Regions from separate parts of the Homo sapiens genome. Here region 2 is linked to region 1. The links are contacts of gene promoters, found by promoter capture Hi-C in human tissues and cell types (Jung and others, 2019). All regions are on one chromosome and are shown on one strand. Each heading gives the region's core, a stretch centred on a gene start or on the middle of the fragment in contact. The rest is flanking DNA. Distances are from core to core; before and after follow the strand shown.

The links. Contacts are between HindIII fragments. The study calls those that stand out against the background at their distance.
Region 2: a contact is called between a fragment that was not itself captured here and the fragment with the promoter of PRR16 in region 1, in 1 of the 25 tissues and cell types used here (dorsolateral prefrontal cortex).

What each region holds. Positions count from the first base shown.
Region 1 is chr5:120,462,853-120,465,552 of GRCh38, reverse strand. PRR16 (proline rich 16) reads right to left here and starts at 1,253. Exons shown (of 2, transcript NM_001300783.2): 1 at 908-1,253. The coding sequence starts at 1,066. RefSeq lists an enhancer at 378-879 and a silencer at 1,285-1,334. The HindIII fragment of the contact is 4,324 bases long and covers 1-2,700 here.
Region 2 is chr5:119,535,798-119,538,497 of GRCh38, reverse strand. HSD17B4 (hydroxysteroid 17-beta dehydrogenase 4) reads right to left here. Exons shown (of 24, transcript NM_000414.4): 23 at 1,948-2,075. Among named protein-coding and RNA genes, the nearest start is that of HSD17B4, 85 kb to the right of the region's middle. RefSeq lists an enhancer at 292-371. The HindIII fragment of the contact is 7,083 bases long and covers 1-2,700 here.

The DNA.
Region 1 (2,700 bases), core at 4-2,503:
CAGCCCTGACACCTTCTCTGCTTCTTTCCATCTGGATCACCTGGGGCTAGGGGCGGGCGGGAGTAGGGCTGAACCGAAGTGGGATAGGAAAAGCGGGGAAGAACCGAAGCAGTCCCAGCTGCAGAGAGCCAGGACGCCAATGGCAAGACCCCGGCCACACATACACTCTCCTGCGCGTCCTGCTTCTCGGGTTCAATGCCAAGTGGCGACAGGGTGGAAGGAAGGAAGCAGAGGTAGGGTGGCGGGAAGGCCCAGAGTTACTGGTAACGACGTTCGGAGGAGAGCAGGGGATGCTTCAGAAACTGAGAAAGTGAGAAAGTCCCAGACCCCCTCCTTAGCCCCAAGGCTGCCAGCAGCCCGGGTCGCCTTCCCTACAGCGAGGCTCGAGAGACAGGGAGGGTAGTCTGAGCCAAGCTTCCTCCAGGCTGCCCTCCCTGATCTGGCCCAGGGCCCAGAACCCGGCCCCTCTTCAGCCCTGACTTGGGGAGGCTGACAGATAGGCAGCGGACTTGCCAAAGGACTCTGGGGAAGCAATAGGGCAGGAGAGGAGCATCTTGCACGCTCCAGCCGGGCTGCTCACGACTTCCTCTGCCGACACACCCCCAGCTAACCCTCTCCCCCGTCGTCACACACACAGATTCAGAGACACGCGTGCGTTCATCCCTCCCACCAGCCCAGGTCCATCGATTAAAACACTAGTTGATTTCTTCCTGATTAAAAAAAAAAATTAAAAAGTGCAACAACAACTCCTCTCAGGACTCCAGGAGCAAAGAAAGTCCGTCTGCAGGCGCCTTTTCTGTAGTTTCCCAGGAGTTTGGAAATCTGGCTGTCCCTGCTGAAAATCGGAAAGGGGACCCCGGAGGGGTCGAAGGGTGCCGAACTCCCTCCCCACCCCTGCGCCTCTCACCTCCTTAAGTTCCTTGGCCACGTCCTTCAGGTCGCCCAGGACTAATTCCAAATCCTCCACGATGATCTTGATCTGTTCCTTCACCTTGGTTTTGGAGGCTGCCGGCGGTCCCTCGGCTGGACAGGACGAGGAGGGGTTCCCCTTGGACTTGGCTGACATTCTTTGGGGGCAAGCGAGGCAGGTCAGGACAGGCGGGCGAGCGGAGGCTGCTGCGTGCCCCCGTCCCTGGCGCTGCTACGGCCGCTGCCGCCCCGGTCCCCCCACATCTTGGGCGCTCCCTGGGCAGCGGCGAGTGGCTGCGCTCCGCGCTCGGCCGGGCGGCCGCACAGTGGTGCTGCCATCAACTCCCGAGACGCGGCGCTCGGCTCGGGGCTGCAGACGGGCGAGCAGCGCGCCTGCGCCTCCTCCCGCCGCCGCCCGGCGCTCTCGCGCACACGCGCTCGCTCCCCGCCCGCGGAGAGGGGCGCCGTGCTGCCGCGCCAGGGTTGACGCTTGCAGTCCCCTCGACGTTGCCCTTCGAGATATCTCCCAGATGCCACCTTGGCATCAAGGTGGGGGAGACAAGTCCGTGTCCTGCCCGCCCCCTCCTCTTGGTTCTGAAATGTCCCCATCATCTCAGCCTGCTTGCTGTATGTCATCTCACAACTAGCCTGGATTCTTTCTGCTTCACTTGCTAGCAGGGACCTGGATCAATTCAGAAAGAACCACAGTGGGATCAGGAGTTGGAGACAGTCTGTAAAGTGGCCCTACAGATTTATCCAAACCCAAATGATGTCCAGAGGCCTTTAATCAATCTCTTGGTGACCTGCGAGTTAAGCAGACTTCTTAACTTCTGCAAGAAAAAAGGGGGGGGGGGGTGCACATAACAGCTAATGGTCATCTATTGAAACCATGAAATTCAACCAGTGTTCTTGAAAGAGGTACCCTAATCCTGCTAATTCCACAAAGCTAATACCGGATTTATTAATTTGAAGTCCCCACACCCCAAATCCTCTCTGATTGTCTCAGTCATCTTGGCTGTATGTCTTATTTGGCCCAACTCTTTTTTTTTTTTTTAACTGTCCTTCCTCTTTTTGTGACCTATGCTGATTTACATTTTGAGTGGAGTGGGGGAGACATCGTATTTGGACCTCGTGAAGGAGCTGAGTAAGAGATTGCCTCCAACTTCTCTTTCATCATTTTTTAAACCTCCATTTCAACTCTTTTGCTACTAAACAAATAGGAAACAACTTTCTGACTGTTCTGTCAAAAAGACCCAAGAAGGGAAGTTAATAGGAAGCCTTCGGTTCACTCTCAGTAGGTGTCTACAATTCTCATTAGCTAGAATTTTAACTTCCTTAGTTGTAAACCCATGGGCTATTAGCTACTGACCCAGCAGGCTGGCTCTACTTTATTTTCTTCACTGCACACTCCTCCAGATCATTCTTTTAATAGGCTTCCCCTTTTCGTCGTGCCTTAGCAAGGCTCTCTGTTTCTTGCTTCTCACACTCTGGGTAGCTCCACTGTGCTACACATAAAGAAAAGCTTGGCAGCTCTCCTCTTCCCAGTTCTGTAGGCTCTTAATCAATCACTCTCTTAATCCTGGACAATTCATCTTTACAAAACCTTTGGAAGTCATATGTGGAATATAGAGGAAGAAAGAGAACAGAAGAAAAAATTGAAATTTGAAAGTGGTGTCAAAAGAAAACCATTGAAAACTGCATTGAAAAATCAGGGGAAGAAATGAGAAAAGGTGAAAAGCAGATGCTGCTGGAAAGACTTAAGAAGAGATTATAAGAACAAGTCTGCAGCAT
Region 2 (2,700 bases), core at 65-2,564, 930 kb after region 1:
ATGAAAGTAGTAGAAATGACTAACATACATAAATAATCTAATCTGATTTACATTTTTAAAGGATTACTCTGGCTCCTGGGTGGAGAACAACAGACTGAATGGGAGAGACAAGACTGGAAGAAGTAAGACAGGTGAGAGATGACAGAGGCTAGGATCACAGTGATATCCCTAGAGAGGAAGAGAAGATGAATTCAAGATATATTTTGGAGAAAGATCAGACAGAAGTAAGGAAGGAAAGGATACAGAAGGGCAGAAGGAATCTAAGATAATTTTTACATTTCTGGGCTTATTAATTTGGGTAAATAGATGATGGTGCCACTAATTAAGAAGGAAGAGACTGGGGGAGAAAAATAAATCACAAGTTCTATTTTGGTCACAGTAAGTTTGACATGCCAGAAAGTTTCCCATCAGAGTGGTCAAGTAGAGGGATGGTTCTCTCACTGTGGAGCTCAGAGAAGACTAAGTGGAGCCAAGTTCCTCGCACGGCAGGCCTTTGTATTAGTTGTTTCCTTAGTCTGATGACTCATTCTGATACTCTGTTCAAATCTCTGTCAGGCATTTCAGGTACCTTAGAAAACCCCAGAAGGTATTTTAAACAACCTATTTAAAATAGTTCCCCTGTCCTGTCACATTCTAACTCAAGGGTTGGCAAACAACAGCTGGAGAACCAGATCTAGTGGCTGTGTGTTTCTGTAAATAAAGTTTTATTGGAACACAGTCACACTCCATTGTTTACATATTCTCTATGGCTACTTTAAGGCTACAATGGCAAAGCTGAAGAGCTGCAACAGAGACCATCTTGCCCACAAAGCCTAAAATATTTACTGTGTAACCCTTTACAGAAAAAGTTTGCCAGTCATTGCTCTAACACTATACTCAGGCTTACTCTTCTCTAACTTGAGATTTTATTTCTTTTGCATTAGTACACTAAAAGAAGCTCCATACAGTAGGGTTTTGTCTTAATTCAGCCAATACCTACAACCTGAATAGGTACTAAATAAATTCCTGGAAAGAAATTAACAGAGGGTTCACTGCATTGCCAAGCACTGTACTAAGCTCTTCATACATATTATTGGGTTTAGTTCTTATAATAAGCCTTGTAAACATTAAAATTATTAAACTCATTTTACAAATGAGAAAATTAAGGTTTTTGGATGAAGTGACAGGGGCAAGATTCAAATTTAGATTTTATCTGATGCCAAAGACTACTTTTTACCTACTATACTACTTTACAATTCCTTTTAGTCTTTCTATACAGGAAAATCATATATTTCCTCATTTATTCAAATTACTCCTATGTGAAAGCTATTTTTAAATAACTGCACTCAGCCATTTGTTTGAACTCCTTCATTCTAAGAATCAATAAGTTAGTTCCCTTGGAATTTCTAGCTACATAATCACAAATTGAAAATAACAAATTTTTCTCCTCCATTCTAATTGCCACATCAATTACTTTAATTTTGTATATTTGTGGATTGGTCAAAAGTTTCATAATAATATTAACTAAATAATCGTCACAGAAGGCACTCTTCTGTTAATCATGATTTTCCACTGAAATGCCTCTAAGATTCACCCTAAGTAAGACATGGGCTATTAGGTTAAAATATCCTTCTAGTTCCAATATTCAATGATTTCTTAATCTTATTTATTGGGAATGTCTAATTTTATGTAGTACCTACTAATGTCATATGGTTTTTCACCTTTGAACACATAACAGAATATATTAAAAAATCTAGATGTGGGTTCAGTCTTAAAAAGTGTCAGGTGAAACTCCATTAAAAAAGAAATATATGACCTGTCAACCAGAGTATCAGTAGCAACTGTGTCATCTTCAGAGTTGTAAGAAACCTGGCTTATAAATCAGAATTTGGGCATCAGCTTAAAAACTGCAATTGTCAAAAGAGGAAACAATAAAACAATGAATAAATGAACATTTGAGAACATTACCTTCTGAGGGTCAAGCTTGCCCAGGACCACCTCCATGAAATCTTCATCTGAAAGTATGATTGTTGTATCAGCAGCACCTTTTGCAGGGCCTTGGTACACTTTTCCAGAACCACTTTTCAGGTCAATAGCTGGGAAAAATAGGAAGAAACCAATGTGTATCTTTTTCTCTCCAACAAAATGAGGGTAAAATAAACCAAGTAAAATGCAGACATTTCTATAGTTTCCATGTTAATGTGGCACTTATTCTACACATATTCTATCTATCAATTATACATTATCTGTCATTTAGAAAAAAAGCAAAATATAGAAATACAAGAATACAGAAATTTGAGGTAAAGAAGTGGAACTTCCAGTTCTGTAGTGGCTCAGGTCATGGTCTGCAACCACCACCATCACCTTGAGTTTATAGACACCTATAAGATCACAGCTAATCTTATTTCAGAAGTGAAGAAAGAGATTGTATTCATTTTCTCTTAGTGGCAGAATTCATTACAGGCATCTTACTGTTGATTTTTAGCTCTGTATTTATTAATAACTAAGCTTCTGAAAGAGTCCATAACAATTTCAGTCATACTTCACAGCATTTAATGAGGGAGGGGTGAGGTAACAGATGAGAATATGGCATTTGAAAACTTGGAGACCCCTGAGGATCTTATTAAGATATATACTTTACAAATCACAAAGGGTCACTACAGGAGAAAGAAGGAACTGTTTTTGTTTATGCTACCTTCCCTTAATATTAGGTCTTTGCTG